Linked DNA regions of Homo sapiens: region 1 is linked to region 2. The links are contacts of gene promoters, found by promoter capture Hi-C in human tissues and cell types (Jung and others, 2019). All regions are on one chromosome and are shown on one strand. The core of a region is centred on a gene start or on the middle of the fragment in contact, and the rest is flanking DNA. Distances in the headings are between cores, read along the strand shown. Region 1 overlaps ARNT2 (aryl hydrocarbon receptor nuclear translocator 2). Region 2 holds the start of MEX3B (mex-3 RNA binding family member B).

What was found. The method cuts DNA at HindIII sites, captures the fragments that hold promoters and counts their contacts. A contact is called where the count stands out against the background at its distance.
Region 1: a fragment that was not itself captured here is called in contact with the fragment with the promoter of MEX3B in region 2 in 1 of the 25 tissues and cell types used here (dorsolateral prefrontal cortex).

What each region holds. Positions count from the first base shown.
Region 1 is chr15:80,421,300-80,425,033 of GRCh38, reverse strand. All of the region lies in intron 1 of ARNT2 (aryl hydrocarbon receptor nuclear translocator 2), which reads right to left. Among named protein-coding and RNA genes, the nearest start is that of ARNT2, 19 kb to the right of the region's middle. The HindIII fragment of the contact is 6,048 bases long and covers 1-3,734 here.
Region 2 is chr15:82,043,459-82,047,352 of GRCh38, reverse strand. It overlaps MEX3B (mex-3 RNA binding family member B), which reads left to right and starts at 1,335. Exons shown (of 2, transcript NM_032246.6): 1 at 1,335-1,903; 2 at 2,740-3,894. The coding sequence starts at 1,648. RefSeq lists silencers at 86-405, 1,256-1,555 and an enhancer at 86-1,032. The HindIII fragment of the contact is 10,437 bases long and covers 1-3,894 here.

The DNA.
Region 1 (3,734 bases), core at 308-2,807, 1.6 Mb after region 2:
GTTTTATTTTAGTAATTCGTTTGTTGACTATCTCATGTGTTCCTTCAACTTCAACCCCTTTTGCTACAAAAAAAGGATTTATTTTGCACAAGGAACTGGATAAAATTCACGTCAGATTCTTAAAAGCAGCCATAGATATAGGCAGCCCCACTTTACTGTCTTCAAAACAAAGATTCCGGGTTTCAATTCCTGCCGGAAGCCTGAACTGGTAAGACAAATTAGAAATCCATTCTCTGTTTACCTATTTTTTTTTTTTGAGGGCTGTTTTGGAAGAAAACAGTATAAACTGTTTTGTCAACAAACCAAAGAAAAATTATGACTCAGACCACTGAAAGGGAAAGGTTCCAGGCAATAGTGAAGCAGTAAGAATACAACCACTTTGACTTTCACCCACAGGTACATTTTTTATTTGATGATTACAGACAAAAGAATGCCATAATAAAACCAAGTGGGACATGGGCAATACCACTGCCATGGCTGGACTGTGAGGCACTCAGAGAGAGGCAACATCTGACTGGAAGAGCAGCCCGTGGAAGGAGGGACCTGACTTTGCCACTTTATCATCCTGCCAAAGTGGGCCAGCCTCCGAACATCTTGGATGAGGACATCTTCCCAATAAAAGTGGGAATGAAATGTCACAAAATAAAACCTCATGGGAGTGGTGTGCAAACCAGATGAAGTCTGAAACCTGTGACACAAAAGTACCTTGCCAACGAGGCATAGACATCTATTGTACTGCCTGTCCTGTCCTCGTCTCCCTTCTGGGGACAACCCAGAGAACCCTGCCTGAGGAATGTTCCCTCTCTCACCCACAGTCCTTGCGGCCCAGGTAAGTCTGACCCCATGAGGGTTCCTGGGGTGTATACATGCCCAGATCTGGTCAGTCATAGCACGGTGTTCCCTGGCAACAGGGCCTGGTTCAGGAATATCATGCAGGGCTATTCTACCTAAGACCCCTGCTGGAGTTTTCATTGGTAAGATGCAACTGGGCCACCACTTGGGTAGAACCTGCCTGAGAATAAAACCAACACAAGGTGGGGAAAGCTAAGGGACCACGAGGAAGAGAAACAGTGCCTTAAGTAACTGCTAGCACTCTTGGATCTTTACTTGAAGCCAAACGCTTGCCTGGATATCCCAGTTTTATGAAAAATTCCTTTATGGATTGTCTAAGAGTTAGTTTGAACTGGGCTGTCTGTCTTTGGAGCTGAAAGAATCTTGACCAATATAGTATGACTCTCTCTCTCTCTCTCTCTCTCTGCCTCTTTCTCCCTCTCTTTCACACACACACACAAAATATCATCAAAAGCTTCACTGACCACACTACAAATTCTAGCATATTTGCAGAAAGATCTCACTACTCATAATGGATGGGAATTAGCAAACTCACTTACTAATATGGATCTTAGCAAATCAAATTCATCATATCTTTTAATAACAATATTAAAAGAACCATGCAGTGTTACTATGTGCCTTTTATTCAGGAAGATACATATAGCTCAACCTTGGGAAATCTATCAATAGTTCAAATAAGTATATATATATACACATGCTTATCTCAGTAGACACTGAAAAAATACATTAGACATAACTGATTATGTGACTCATAATCACATAGTGAGCGTTCCCAGTGTAAGCAACATGTTCCTAGGGTTAGGAATTCCTGTGTGTTTCCACACTAACTCCTTAATGCTGCCACTGCACAGATCCATTGAGCATCAGTCCTCAACTCTTTGTGGAAATGATCCTCAGGTCTAGGATGATGGTGACGTTGACCCGCTGATGGTAACAGCTAATGTTTACTGGGCACAGACGCCATTAGGTGCTGCACGAAACACATTTCATGTGTCCCCTCATGTACACACAACTGCTTTATGAGGTGGATATCATTATTATTATTATTCTCATTTTACAAGACATCAAAGCAAAGAGGCTAAGAACCTGCCTGAAGTCACACAGCTAAGTGACAGAGCTGAAATATGCAAACCAACATACATTTGATTTAAAAGCAAATGTTTTTAACTACATAATATAAAGTATGATACGTAAGTTAGGAACACGTTTTCTTTTTAAAATTTTTATTCTGTTATAAATTACAAGACCAAAAAGGCTAAGAAACACACTTACGCAAAAAGTGATAATCATGGTTAACTTTTTGGTATATGTAAATCCAGACTCTTCTCCTTACATATATAAATACAAGTAAGTGTAGAAATATTTAATATGAATAATATCACATGTTGGTGGTTGTATACTCTATATGCCTTAATTATTACTCTAGAAATATTATTATACTTACTTAGTAAAAGTTTAATAGTTCTAAACTACACAGCTTTACCTCTGATCACCTCACAAAGTACATGTTGTTATTATTGATAGCCGAAGCATGTTTATCTTTATTCTTGTGCCCATTATTTCCTTTGCTCACTGCATCTGAGAACTTCCATTTGCGGTCACTTACTTAAATCTTCCAGAAGTACACCTTCAGAAGTTCCTTTAGTGAGGTCTCAAATCCTCTCAAATTTTTATCTAAAAATGTTTTATCTCCTCATTCTTAAAAGATAAATTGTCTAAGTATAGAATTCTAGGTTTACAATTATTTTCAACTAGCATATTAAAATATTGTATTGTCGTCTGGCATGCATGATCACTGTTTAGAAGTCATTCATCAATCTAATTGCTGCTCCTGTATAGGTGATATGTCTGCTGTTTGTTACTGCTTCTAAGTTTTTCTCTTTGTTATTTTCTATTTTCCCTACATCTAGTTAAGGTTTGAATATCTCTTTATTTATCTCGCTTGGAATTTGTTGTTGCTCCTGAATCTGAGGCTCAATGACTTTCATCGATTCTGAAAAAGTATCAGCCTCTTCTCTTTGAATCTTAATACACCTAACTTCCCTGTTCTCCCTACCATCTCTACCTGAAACTCTAACTTACATAAGAAGGAGGAGGTCTCACCTCTCTGTCTCCCAGCCACTCTTTTATATTTTTGAACTCTGATTCTGTGCTGAATTCTCTGTAATTTCTTTCATTCTACTTTCTAAGTCATTAATTCTCTATTCATCTGTGTTGAGTAGCTATTTAATTCGTCCATGCTTTACTAATTCTGTTTATTTTTCAATGCTGTAATTTCCTGACACCCACTTGGACTAAAGGACTGCCAGCCAGCTGACTGCCTTCAACTGGACCCTGAAACCTGGTAATGAGTATCTCACTAGGAACCACAATTAAAAGAAGATCAGAGATTAGCTTCTAATTTTCCTGAGCTGCATAAGGCCCAAGGTGTCGTAAATACCCTAGGAAAAAGGTGCACCTTCCTCAAAACAAATGATGAGACTGAATGTTTAAACAGCCAAGCTGGAAGAAATAAGTTGGGTTTAATTTGATGGAGAAAATACAGCAATAAGATGGAGTTTGCACTCAGCTACCATCAGACAATTCATATAACCTATACAATGTCATTCGGTGCATTGTTTCAAAACTAGTGAACTATAGGTTAAAAATGACTTTCTTTGTACCATTAAGTACTTTTTAACATTTATTTTTATTGATTTTAATATTGTGATGACAGCTTTCCTTCCTTCCTTCTTTCTTTCCCTCCCTCCCTCCCTCCCTCCTTTCCTTCCTTTCTTTTCTTTCTATTTCAATAGCTTTAGGGGTACAACTGGTTTTTGGATACATGGATGAATTGTATAGTGAAGGCCGAAATTTTAGTGTACTTGTTGCCCAAGTAGTGT
Region 2 (3,894 bases), core at 86-2,585:
CCCGGCCCGCCCCTCAAATCCTCCTTCCTTCTCTCTCGCACTCGGAGACGGTCCCTGGGAGATCCGGGAGGGGGCGCAGCTCGCCGTCCTCGCCGGCAAGTGCCGTCGCAACCTCCCTCTGCCGCCACCCCCACCCCGAGAAGCGCACAAAGAGCGGCCGGGCAGGGAGCGCTCACCTCCCGTCGGGGCGGGGCCGCGGGCGGGGCCGGCGCGCGCTCCGCAGCGCCCGCCTTAAAGGGCCCGCCCGCTCCTCGCGCGCACTGCGCATGCTCGGCCGCGGGGCACGGAGGGGAGGGATGGGAACAGCGGGCGCGCACGCCCGCGCCGCCCGCTGGCGCTGTGGCCTGCGTCCCCGCGGTGGCGGCGCGGCGCTCGTGCGCGTGTCAGAACCCGCAGGGTCTCGGCCCGGGCGCCGGGCGTGTGCTGGACACTGGTGCCATGCATTCCAGAGGTCGCCAGCGGCCGGGCGGGCCGAGCTCGCGCGGCAGCCAGCTTTTAGCTTTCCCATCCTCAGTTTCAGGGCCAGTTGGGCGAAGTGCTGCCCAAGGAGACAGAAATGCAGGCGCGGGCGCGCGCGCGCGCGGTTGCCAGTGTGGGCGGGCGTGTGCTTTTGTGTCTCGTGCGCTCCCGCGCAGGTGGACAACCCGCGCCGGGAGTCACTCTGCCCGTGCGCCCCAAGACCTGGAGTCCCGTTTTCCGTGTCGGAGGGCTCGGGTCGCCCTTTTGGGCGGACTACAGACTCTTCTCACAGAGGAAGCTTTGGCTCCACGGATGGTTTATTTGGAGCCACTAACGGGACTTCCTGAGGACCGCTCTTTTAGAGCCCGGCTCCAGGCATCAGAGTTGGGCGCGTTTTCTTTTCTCAGTCAGGCGAGGGAGGAGACTTAGGGACAATGATTGTCCTCGGCTGATAGGTACATCCAAGTGTCCCGAGCCTGCCAGTCCCGCATTAGACAACAAAGAGAGGCGTTAGCGGCGGCGGGGGAGGGGCGCGGCCGGGAGGAGGACGGGGCGGGCTGCGGCGAGCGCGGGGGTGGGGGGTGGCGCTCTCTCTCCGCTCGCTCAACCCGCGGCCTCCTCCCGCCCCCGGCCTGGCGCGCGCCAATCGCCTCCCCCAGCGATAGTGTCAGTAGCATTGTGGTGTCAGCTCCCGCCTGTGACGTTGCGCCTCCCTCGTCCCCCTCCGGAGTCGTCTGGCTGCAGAGGCTCAGTCAAGAGGCGGGGAGGAGAGGAGGAAAAAGCGCTGAGTGAGGGCGGGCGGGCGGGCGGGAGGGAGGGAGTGGAGGAGCCGGGGAGGGGCTCCTTAAAGAAACGCTTCTGTCGCTCGCCTGCTCGCTTTTCGCTCGGCATTGCGGCCAGCCAGCCGGGCACTCGGGGGGCACGCGCGGCCACCGCTAGAGCTCTGCCCCCACCCCACCCGCCAGCAGGTCTGGGGTGGGGACCCAGGTGGGGGCTCCTGCAGCCACTGCCCGGTGCGGACCGCACGGAGCGACCCACTCCTCCCAGCACCGAGGAAGAAGCAACGGAGCCCTCAGCAGGCGACCGGCCTCCCCGCCCCTGACCACCCGCTTCCCGGCTGCCTTTGTGGCCGCAGCTTCTCGCCGCCGAGCCGAGGGCCGGCGGGGGCGCGGCGCGCACGGCCGAGCGATGCCCAGCTCGCTGTTCGCAGACCTGGAGCGCAACGGCAGCGGCGGCGGCGGCGGCGGCAGCAGCGGAGGGGGAGAGACCCTGGATGACCAAAGAGCCCTGCAGCTCGCGCTCGACCAGCTCTCCCTGCTGGGGCTGGACAGTGACGAGGGCGCCTCTCTGTACGACAGCGAGCCGCGCAAGAAGAGCGTGAACATGACCGAGTGCGTGCCAGTACCCAGTTCTGAGCATGTCGCCGAGATCGTGGGGCGGCAAGGTAGGTCGAGGAGGGATGGGGAGGTGGGTGGGGGTGGTGTAGGGTCTCAGGCCACTGCCTCGAGGGGAAGGCGTGTTCAGTATCGGGATCCGCGGCGTGGGGTGCCTTGGGGAGAGAGGAAGAGCCGCGCGATGGGCCGGCGCCCCAGACAAAGAAAGTGCAGGCAGGCTGTCTCCCGGAGCCGCGCCGCTGCCCTGGCGGGATGCACTTTCTTCTGCTAAAATCACTGCCTTCTCCCCTAACGCCCCCCAACCAGCCCACCTCCAGAAAGACAATTTAAATGTAAGATGCTTGGGGGAGGGGGCCTTTGATCAGTCCTTTGGGAGGAGGAAGGAGGAGGAGTGAGCATAGGATGGGAGGAGGATTCTGGATTTCTGCAAAGCGGAATGGAGCCCAGAGGAGGAACAATGGGTCCCGGGACTCACACCCCACCCCCTACCCCCAGTCGACCAGCGCTGAGGCATCGCGACTTCAGCTGCCTTCCCCGAGCCCCTTCCCCGTGTCTTCAGAGCTGACGGCGCGCCCAGCTGGATCCCAGCGGCATCTCCCCAGATGACTTTTCTGGGATTCTCGGGTTTGGTTCGGGACGACTGCAGTCACTGGGGGAGGGCCAGGCAGCCAATGGGCTGTTCCTCGAGCGCCTCGCGGGTGGGATCCGCTGCCCAGCCCGTGGCGCGGCCCGAGGTCAGTGAGGGAGACGCCCCCTTTCCGCCCATCTCTTGTCCTGCCGTCTCGCTGTCCTGGACGCGGGCTGTCCCCGGTCCCCGCGGTTACCCCAGGATAATGGGCGTGTCTGTCTCTCTCTCCCACTCCCTCCTCCGCACCCTGGTTCGTAGGTTGTAAAATCAAAGCGCTGCGGGCGAAGACCAATACTTACATCAAGACCCCAGTTCGCGGGGAGGAGCCTGTCTTTGTTGTGACGGGCAGGAAGGAGGATGTGGCCATGGCTCGGAGGGAGATCATCTCTGCTGCCGAGCACTTCTCCATGATCCGCGCCTCCCGGAATAAGAACACGGCACTCAACGGCGCGGTGCCTGGGCCGCCCAACCTGCCCGGGCAGACCACCATCCAAGTGCGGGTACCCTACCGCGTGGTGGGGCTCGTGGTGGGGCCCAAAGGCGCCACAATCAAGCGCATCCAGCAGCAGACGCACACGTACATCGTGACGCCCAGCCGGGATAAGGAGCCGGTGTTCGAGGTGACCGGCATGCCAGAGAACGTGGATCGCGCTCGAGAGGAGATTGAGGCGCACATTGCTCTGCGTACCGGCGGCATCATTGAGCTCACAGACGAGAACGACTTCCACGCCAACGGCACCGATGTGGGCTTCGATCTGCATCATGGGTCCGGCGGGTCCGGCCCAGGCAGCCTCTGGAGCAAGCCCACCCCCAGCATCACGCCCACCCCCGGCCGCAAGCCTTTCTCTAGCTACCGCAACGACAGCTCCAGCTCGCTTGGCAGTGCTTCCACAGACTCTTATTTCGGCGGCGGGACCAGCAGCAGCGCAGCGGCTACCCAGCGCCTGGCGGACTACAGCCCCCCTAGCCCCGCCCTGAGCTTTGCGCACAACGGAAACAATAACAATAACGGCAATGGGTACACCTACACAGCGGGGGGAGAAGCCTCAGTGCCATCCCCCGACGGCTGCCCCGAGCTGCAGCCCACTTTTGACCCGGCTCCCGCTCCCCCACCTGGGGCACCACTTATCTGGGCCCAGTTCGAGCGGTCCCCGGGAGGCGGACCTGCAGCTCCGGTATCTTCTTCCTGCTCTTCTTCTGCATCTTCGTCTGCTTCTTCCTCCTCCGTGGTCTTCCCCGGGGGTGGCGCCAGTGCGCCCTCCAACGCCAACCTGGGGCTATTGGTGCACCGCCGGCTGCACCCTGGCACCAGCTGCCCGCGCCTGTCTCCACCCTTGCACATGGCCCCGGGGGCGGGAGAGCACCACCTGGCTCGCCGGGTGCGCAGCGACCCGGGTGGAGGAGGCCTGGCCT